2 separate regions of the Homo sapiens genome follow, and region 1 is linked to region 2. Evidence: promoter capture Hi-C in human tissues and cell types (Jung and others, 2019). All regions are on one chromosome and are shown on one strand. Each heading gives the region's core, a stretch centred on a gene start or on the middle of the fragment in contact. The rest is flanking DNA. Distances are from core to core; before and after follow the strand shown.

Region 1 (4,505 bases), core at 1,856-4,355, 1.5 Mb before region 2:
AAGTGATCCACCCGCCTTGGCCTTCCAAAGTGCTAGGATTACAGGCATGAGTCACCATGCCCAGCCTACTATTATTTCTTGACAATCTTTCCTGAAGAATTTATCTTTATGTGACTGAATGTGAGTTAATTTGTTTTCTAGAAAGATGCATTAATACAAAACAATATTGGTTTTCCACTAGGCTTTTCTTTCTCTAAAGACCTTCAAGTCTTAAGAGAAATATGACATTGAGTGTGAAAGCAATATATTAGAGAAAATAAATATTCCCTGCCTCCAGCCTTCCATTTTAAATTTGGCTAAACTTTGGGAATCATTTTAGAAGAGTAGGGTAATATTTTGAGTGAGACTCTCTCAGATGCAGTTTAGTTGGGAATGAGTCATATGGGTGCTTTCTTAATGATACGTTATGACACATCACATGAAGATGACTGAATTTTCCTTTTCCTCTTTCTTTCCATTAGCACATTATCTACTTTGCCTCTTTTTCAATGATGAGTATCCAGCTTTGTCTTTTCACTTCCTTTCACATTTCAAGTCTGGTTTCACATTCAGAATTTATTAAAAATGACTTTGAGAAATGCTAATTTCACAACCATCTTCAAAGATTCTGTTCAGAGTTCTAGGATGGAGTTTAAGACATTGCATTTTCAGTGTCTACCACCATCACTCTCTGTCCCTAGAGGATTTAGGTACAGTTGGACTGTGGATTACGCTTTGAAAAATTCTGGACTAAAGGAGCTGATTGAACTTTATCTCTTATTACAGCATCTCTCTCCAATTGCCTTGGCCCATTAGTGAGCAACTACTAGATTTAAATTTGTATGTTTCTTCCAACGCATCTCTTTTGAAGGTTTATTATAGTGTTATGTACCCATTCAGAGCTTAGTACCTATAAATGGAGAGGATTCTCTGAAGATAACCTCCCTTTATCACTTCTAACCTCTTATTCTTGGGTTGTGACCATTTTGCTTACTCAGGGATTCCTAAATAGCCTTTTCAAAAAGTGCTCTAATGAGTAAATTAAAGTAAAAAGCATTTTTAATGATATTCATGTATCTGATAACGATTTGGACTTAACAATGCTGAAATTCTATAACTCAATGAAATGCACTTTTATAATGTTATACATCTATATTTAAATTACCTATTAAGATTTAAATCACAGCAAAACTTTCTTCTCTCAGATAATGCACTGTGGAAGTTATGAATTTACCTCTCATTTCTTTCCAGTAATTCTTTCTCCCATTTTGTGTGAGATATTTGTCTTTATAATTTGACATATTATTTTGGTGTTGCTTAAATATTGCAACTATTATGGGTAACTGAGCTGGCTATTGACATTGTTTGCCACTTATTATAAACAAGAAAATAATGAAGACAAGTCAAAAATGTCAGAACCTGTTAATGATGGGATCGCAGTTATGGTTGGATATACATCAAGGATGGGAGTAGCTAGCTGCTATTTATTATGACATTGTACCAAGTGTGTTAACTTTTGTTATTTCATTTTTTCTCATTTTATTCTTATTGACTCATGTAAGTATAATCATTCTAATGTTACAGAGGAGAAAACAGAATCTCAGAGAGTAACCTGCCTTAACCACAACAATGTAAGTAATAGAAGCAGAGCATGAATCCTGGCTTGCTTGACTCCAGAGTCTCAGCTTTCCCCACTACACTGTGCTGTTATGATGCTTAATTCATTTATTGTATGCCAACTTAATAAAAATAGATTTTATTCAGTGGAAACTCTCTGAATCATACTATATTGGTGGATGCATGTCATTATACATTTGTCCAAACCTGTAGAATAGAAAACACCCAGAATGAACCCTAATGCAAACTATGGACCTCAAGTGACAATGATGTGTCTATGTAGGTTCATCAATTGTAACAAATATTCCATTCTGTCCAGGGGTGTGGATAATGGAGGAGACTATACATGTGTGGGAGCAGGAGCTATATGGGACCTTTCTGTACCTTCCTCCTAATTGTGTTGCAACTCTAAAATGGATCTTAAAATATATATATGTATTTCTTTTTCTTTTTATTTCTTTTTTTTTTTTTTTTTTTTTTTTGAGATAGGGTCTCACTCTGTTGCCCAGGCTGGAGTGCAGTAGCACAAAATGCAGCAGCAGGATTCTCTTGCCCCAGCCTCCTAAGTAGCTGGGACTATAGGTATGCACCACCACGCCTGACTAATTTAAAAATTTTTTTGTAGAGACAAGATCTCACTATGTTGCCCAGGCTGGTCTCAAACTCCTAGGTAAAGTGATCCTCCAGCCTCTGCCTCCCAAAATGTTAAAATTACAGGCATAAGCCACTGCCCCTGGCCTAAATATATATATATATATATATAATTATTATTTTTTGAGACAGAGTCTTGCTGTGTCACCCAGGCTGGTGTGTAGTGGCACAATCTTGGCTCACTGCACCTTCTGCCTCCTGAGTTCAAGTGATTCTTATGCCTCAGGCTCCTGAGTAGCTGGGATTATACACATGTGCCACCATGTCCAACTGATTTTTTAGTAGAGACAGGGTTTCACCATTTTGGTCAGGCTGGTCTTGAACTCCTGACTTCAAGCGATCTGACCACCTCAGCCCCCCAAAGTGCCAGGATTACAGGTGTGAGCAACAATGACTGGCCAAAAATAATTTTTTTTAAAAAAGATTTTGTTCTGATTCTGATGGGGAATGGACTCTTTTCTAAAGTTACCAGCAGTTCTTTAACTGGTTAGCGCTACGTTAGGCATAGCTCGTAGTTTTTAGGGTGGCAGGTATGTAAAAAAAGAGGAGAGATGGACAAAACCAAGACAGCAGAAGTAGCTATTTGAGGGATTTCGGAACCCTTGACTGACAGTCACTTCCTGGGACAGTCCTGATTTTGCTGCTCTTTCCCCACCTCTTTCTTTTCAAGGCTTACTCCCTACACACTTACCCTAGCTCTAACCCTTCCTGCTGAGGGGCACCCCATTCACAAGGCAGCGGATACCAGATGTGAGGAATGGAAAGAAAAACGTTGTTACTTGATTGTTCTTATGAGTTATACACTCAGGCTCTTGGTTGGAGGGCTCTGATGTGAAAGCTTGGCTTCAAATCCACTGAAAAACTAGCATGATTGAAGTGGTGAACTGGAGATAGGGTGGGGGTGGCCTACCACGAGGACTAATTTGTTCTTTAAGTTTATCTAATGGTTTGTAAGGGTGGAAATATCTCTGGGGAAGTGTGATGGATTCTCCTAGGAAACTGACTTCACCAAATAATTCTTTTGAAACTGTTTTCAGAAAGGAGACAAGTGGCATGAATCTATTTACAAAGAGAATCACCTCTGTGTCTGTGACCCGAGAGCCATTCCCGTAGTGATACAACTTGGACATTTGTTCAGGAGGCAAGCGCTCACGCTGAGTGATTTTCAAAGCTGTTCGAGGGCATTTATCAGGCTTTTAACTCTAGGTACTCTTTCCCACGGTGTGAAGGCCAAGAGAAGGGATCCTGGGCTCTCTTCCCCGGCCCCAGGATGGGAATTCAGGGGGAAAAGGTCATCTACTCTTATCCCACAAAAGAAAACTTATTCATCAGTTGTCAAGCTAAGGAGCTTCGGAGTCCACAAATAGGGAAATTGCTAAGAGCTTATCAGTAGTGTTCACCCCCCAACCCAACCTGGGGCCACATGGAGAATGATGTTGGGGGCACCAATCTTGTCCTACTTCAGGTGAAAAGCAGGGGTGGGGGGTTCATTCTGAAGGGCTCCTTTGTTAAAATTCCTTCCAATTCCAGGAAAAACATGCACTCCAAAGCCATTATCTCTTTTACTTCTTACTAGGGGACTTCCAGGAAAGAGACAGAGGGAGCGAGAGAAAAAAAGAGGAGGGCAGAACAGCTGCAGTGAATTTAGTCGCCTCTCCAGTTGCTTTCCTTGTTGCAGAATATTTCACATCCCAGGATTTTCCTTCTTGTCCTCTGGACTGTTGATACACCCAAGATCTTAATATCCTTTCGATCACAGGTTAAAGACATGGGGTGGGGCCGGGGGTTGAGGGAGCAGAAAATTGTATTTTAAAGTTTTGTTCTATTTGTTTTATCAGCAATTAAAACTTTTTGTGGTCCCTACCCTGGGCCATGAGGCCACCCTGCTGTGAATTCAATCCAGCCTGACCAGCTAGGACAATGATCATATGAATTAATGGATCTTGATAGACCTCAGTTCCCCTCTTCTCGCCTCACTGAGCACAGCCCAGGCTTCAGTGGCTGCACGTGTGAGCATCCACTCCCACACTCTACCCAAATCACATGCTGAATTCATTGCACATGTGAGCCGTGCTGCACCTGTGGTCTGGAGATACCAGAGTAAATGTAGCTGTGCACCTCCTCTGGGTGTCAGAGGACCTGAGGTTGCTCCTCTGCCTCAATGAGGGGATCTTCCTTCTTCCCTCACATCTCTCCTCCTCTTTGAAGTCGGTAGCATGATTTGGACCCAGCCTCTTGGGAGAGGTGAAATACTCTTT
Region 2 (4,635 bases), core at 984-3,483:
GTAGTTAGAGACAATAGAGAAGGCTTGGGGAACCAGCTGATAGGTCAGCACGGAAAGGGGGCGCCTTCCGGAGAGGCTAGTTTTGAGACACTTTTTTTAACCCTTCGTGCACCAGTTCGGCGCGCTCCACGCCAATCGGAGCAAAGAAAACAAACCTACCAAGATTCCTCAGTTTAACTCTGCCCCTGGGAGCACCTCTAGTTTGACAGAGTGGGGCTGACTCCTAGCTGGTGGCCGACTAAAGAACTTCAGGGAAGAGAAAAAGAGAATAACGCCTTTTAAAGCACCGAATTGTTAGGGGGAAGGGAAAGATGGAGAAAATAAAGTAGAAAGTAAACATTTTAAAGCCTGATGGCCTCAAGCATACAACTGAAAAGGAGGTGGTGGGGTGAAGGACAGGAGAACGGGAAAAGAGCGAACGGGAACCGCGAGAGGGAAGGGCGATCCCGGGAGCTGCTGCGGTTTTGAGAGCTCCGGGCAGAGCTAAACCTCAGGGGATGGAAGTCAAAATAAGTACTTACTTTCGGAGGGGAAGAAGGGCGGCATGTCTATTTTGTAAACCTCCTTGGCGTAGTACTCTTCGTCGCTCCTCTCGCGCTCGCAGGCGGCCGCCCTCCGGCTCGCCTTCTCCTGGAGCAAGTCCCTGGTGCTGTTGTAGATGGAAATCACCTCCGGGGGGACTTCCTCGGGCTCAGGATAGTCTTCTGGGGGACTGGTGAGCTTCAGCTTGCTCAGGATCTGCCCGCGGATCGCCTCGATCCTCTTGCGCATGAACTGGTCCATATCGAGTGTGCTGCAGGTAGACAGGCTGAGCGCGACCGTGACCAGATGCAGGATCAGAAAAGCGCTCAGCACACAGTAGTGCATTTTTTAAAAAAGTGGAAAAAAAAGTTGTTTTTAAAAGTCAGAATAAAAAAAAGAAATCAACAATTCTCAAAGTATAGATCAAGGAGAGTTGTTTGGTTTTTTGTTGTTGTTGTTTTTGATGCGAAACTTTTGCAAACAATCTAGTCAATGCCCAACAGAAAAACGTATCCTGCTTGAATTCCTTTAAAAAGAAAAGGCCAGTAGTTCCAAAAGTGGAAATATTAATACGGGACGGGCAGAGGGAACCCTGACTTTGGCGAGTAAGAAGAAAAAAATTCTTGGAGCAATGAGATGGGGAAAAAAAGAGACGAGTGGCTATTAAGTAGAAATAAATTTAAGAGGAGGAAGTGGAGTTCAGTGTGTCAGTCTCGGGTGCGGAGTGGCGGATCTGAACTCGGCTCCTCCGGCCAAAAGGGAAGAGATGAAAAGGTCCCGGGGCTGGCAGCTGGCGAACTGACGGGAGGGGCGCCGGGAGCGCGGTGAGGGGGGCCGCCGAGGCTGACCTGGGCTGAAATTTATATATTTAAAGAAGGAGCGGTTCGGTCCTGCCTTCCACTGCGGCGCTGAGAGCAGGAGCAGCAGCAGCTCCGGAGCAGAGAAGCGCACACGTGTGTGCGTGCGTGTGTGTGTGTGTGTGTGTGTGTGCGTGTGCGCGCGCTGGGGGCGAGCCCAGCGCACCGCGGGGAGGAGGGTGCGCTTCGCAGGGCGCTCGGTACTCGGTCGGGTGCCGCAGGGGCCGCAGAGGCTGCTGAGGCGGCGCGGATCCTGCTCTGGGAGCTGCGCTCCGTGGCCTACACCCTGGCGGGCGCGCGCTGACCCGCTTGGTTACTCCACGTTGCTGCCGCCGCCGCTTGCAAACGCTTCCAGCCTCCAGCTCCCTCCTTCTCCTGCTCCTCCTTCTCTTGCTCCAAACGCCAACCCAGCCACAGACGATCAGCCGTCGCGGTTGCGTTCACCCCCTGCGGATCACAACGGCAGCCCTTGCGACACCCTGGCTGGGGAGTTTTATTCCTGAGGGGGTTGCGCAGGGGCTCCCTTGGACTCCCACCCTTTCCCAACCTCTGCTGGCTTCTCCCCAACGTGGAATTGCTCGCTTAGGGTAGGTAGGCACTTGCCACCCTAAAATAGATCCTCTCTGTCTCCTCCTGTCTGCAGCCGGGCAGCCCCTCAGTTTGTTCCTGGATGACTCCCTAGACCGTCAGGCTAATATTCTCCATCCCCCTCCCCTGCCTCTTTCACTTGCGCTCTCGCTCTGCTGTCTCTTTCTCTCTTTCTCTTTCTATCTCTATCTCAATCTGTCTTTCTCTTGTCAGGAGCTTCTGGAGCTCCGCTCGGAGCGAACCTTCTGCTGCCAGCAGATAACATCACGATCTTGCCGGGGAGGGGAGATTTATAAGTTCTCTCTGAACCACGTGTCTGCCTTCAACAAAGTGACGTGCTAGGATTACAGTCAGAAGTCCTCTCGTTACTTAGACCACGAGCTCTCCCCGAACCGTTGAGGGAGTGTGGAAATGAGGACCGCTGTGGGTAAGGGAGGAAGGAGGTGGAATGTGCGCCCTGACAACAGTGATTTACGGTATTTACTTTCCAGTCATTTTGGACAGGTCTGTTGAAGGAAGGACAATCAAGTCTCCCGTTTTTACTTAGTGTAGCTCAGTCACAGCCTCCCAAGCTGAATCACTTGCTCTAGAAGGGAAGGCTTCCCTCCTGTATTATGTGTGCACACGCACCCCTATGGGAGGGAGCACTAGTCTACTCAGGGCCAGGCCAGTACTGAAGACATACCTTCCAATCTTTTAAATTCATGTCCTACCTCTTATTTTCTGGGATACCTTAGCAGGTTGCCATCCCAGAATTTATTTTGTTAGTTTGTTGTTTACAATGTACCCCTCTGTTTGTGAACTGCTGGAAAACAGAGATCCATCAATTTTACCTAAAGAATAAGGTATACTTGTTTGTTTTACTGATTTGAATGAATGGTCACCTTTATAATTTGCTGCCTAAGCCACTTCTTGTATGGCTTTCTTCTTCACCTTCTTGCTAGGCTAAACATTATCAACCAACTTCATTCTTTCCATAGCATTAATCCAGGAAGCTGGAATTTTAAGTGTTTGATGTCTACTGTTCTACACTACTCATAACTTGACATTTTCAATTTCAACTAAGTCTAAATTAGATGAATACAAGAATAACTCTTACCACTGTTCCACCTTCCCTTTTTCTTTTATTTTACCTTTAGTTACTCAAAGTCAACATTTTCATTTCGGCATGACTCTGCAGCCATACTGACCAGACAGATGATTTAAACTGGAAACTCTGTTGAATGTACTCCCAAACCCAAGATCTCTATACTGTTCTCTACTTCAGATGTTCCTGAGTTCAGAAAAGTCACAAAGAACTTTCTATCACTTTTGGAATTTATACTTCAGTTGTGTATGGGGCCTAGGTTATTAGTAGAGCACTGAATAAATAAAATAATAATAGCTAACATATACTACACTTAGTAATTTGATGTGTGTTGTGTATGGTCATTTAATCTTCACTATGAACCTATAAAGTGGGTCTTATTATCCATATCTGGCAGATGAGGAGACTGAGGTACAAAGAAGTTAAGTACTTTGTTCGAGACCACAGTAAGTGGTAGAGCTGGATTTTTGCAGTCAGGATCCACTATGTTCTTACCTACTATGTACTTCTGAGAAACAATGGTCCCAGAATATGTTCTGACAAACAGGAATTCTGGAGTCAAACAAGTTTGGGAGATACTGGGTACTCTCCTGTCCTCTTAGATTCCTCATTCTGGAACATTATCATGTTAAAGGCTCTGAAACTCCTGTAGAAGAGAAAACCTTTTCACTCTTTTAACCCAGCATTTTCCAAACTCCCTTGAATACAGAATTTTTTCCATTATCACACATTGAAAAACTCTGGAATAAAATAATTGTTCCAACCCACTTCTGAATAATTCTAAAAATTATGTATAAATCAGCACCAGCAGGTTCCTTTCCTTGATACCAGTTTTGAGTTGAAGCAAAGCTACCATCCCAGTAGCCCAAGAAAAAGATAATCAAGAGGCGCTACTGTCAGACTAGTAGTTTCATCCAGTTAGGTCCTCCCTCTGAGTTCAGTTTGAGAACTGCAGTAGGCTAGCTCTACAGATTGGACAAAAAGTGAATATTCTTACACCTGTGGCCATTATAGACACAGAGCAGGAGCTCCAAACCAGAGCTACTGAGAGAAGATGCTGCTGTGGAATATGGCTGGTTACCTGAATTAGCTATCACTGTATTTTGCTGAGGATACAGGTTCAGCTTCCACAAGCCAGTGAGCATCTTTCATGTTTATAGACAACCTTCTTGGTACAGACACTGATGCACCTTAAGTAGATTCAGATTAGAGTGTGGATAGAGTAGCAAAAGTTCATTTACATCACTTCTAGGAAAACAGCGCAAGCCATAAATTCTGATGGCCACCCCTCTTCCTGACATAGACATACACACTTTTGTTCATAATACTTAGTTTACTGAGTACCTATTGCTCACTTAACAACTCCTTAGACCTGAGACCCCTGACTTACTCATAAGAGGCTACTTTAATTTCCCCAAAGCCCAGGAGGGTAAGACGGGAGGTATTGGTAAAAGCTTCTGGAATGGGTAAGTGCAGTAAGTGAGTATAGCAGGAGAGGAGGAGCCCCTTTCCACCTCTCAAATGATCAGTTCTTTGAAGACCTAACCGGCAAGATTGCTAGAGCTGTCTCCCTGGTAACCG

The links. The method cuts DNA at HindIII sites, captures the fragments that hold promoters and counts their contacts. A contact is called where the count stands out against the background at its distance.
Region 1: a contact is called between a fragment that was not itself captured here and the fragment with the promoter of TGFB2 in region 2, in 1 of the 25 tissues and cell types used here (thymus).

Annotation. Positions count from the first base shown.
Region 1 is chr1:219,794,357-219,798,861 of GRCh38, reverse strand. It overlaps LOC105372926 (a long non-coding RNA gene), which reads left to right. Exons shown (of 6, transcript XR_001738473.2): 3 at 1,564-1,610; 4 at 3,285-4,505. Among named protein-coding and RNA genes, the nearest start is that of SLC30A10, 130 kb to the left of the region's middle. RefSeq lists an enhancer at 4,373-4,505. The HindIII fragment of the contact is 6,787 bases long and covers 1-4,505 here.
Region 2 is chr1:218,342,934-218,347,568 of GRCh38, reverse strand. It overlaps TGFB2 (transforming growth factor beta 2), which reads right to left and starts at 2,233. Exons shown (of 7, transcript NM_003238.6): 1 at 522-2,233. The coding sequence starts at 867. TGFB2-AS1 (TGFB2 antisense RNA 1) reads left to right here and starts at 1,891. Exons shown (of 3, transcript NR_046268.1): 1 at 1,891-1,966; 2 at 2,181-2,394; 3 at 3,107-3,373. RefSeq lists enhancers at 184-684, 1,816-1,865 and a silencer at 2,246-2,305. The HindIII fragment of the contact is 13,667 bases long and covers 1-4,635 here.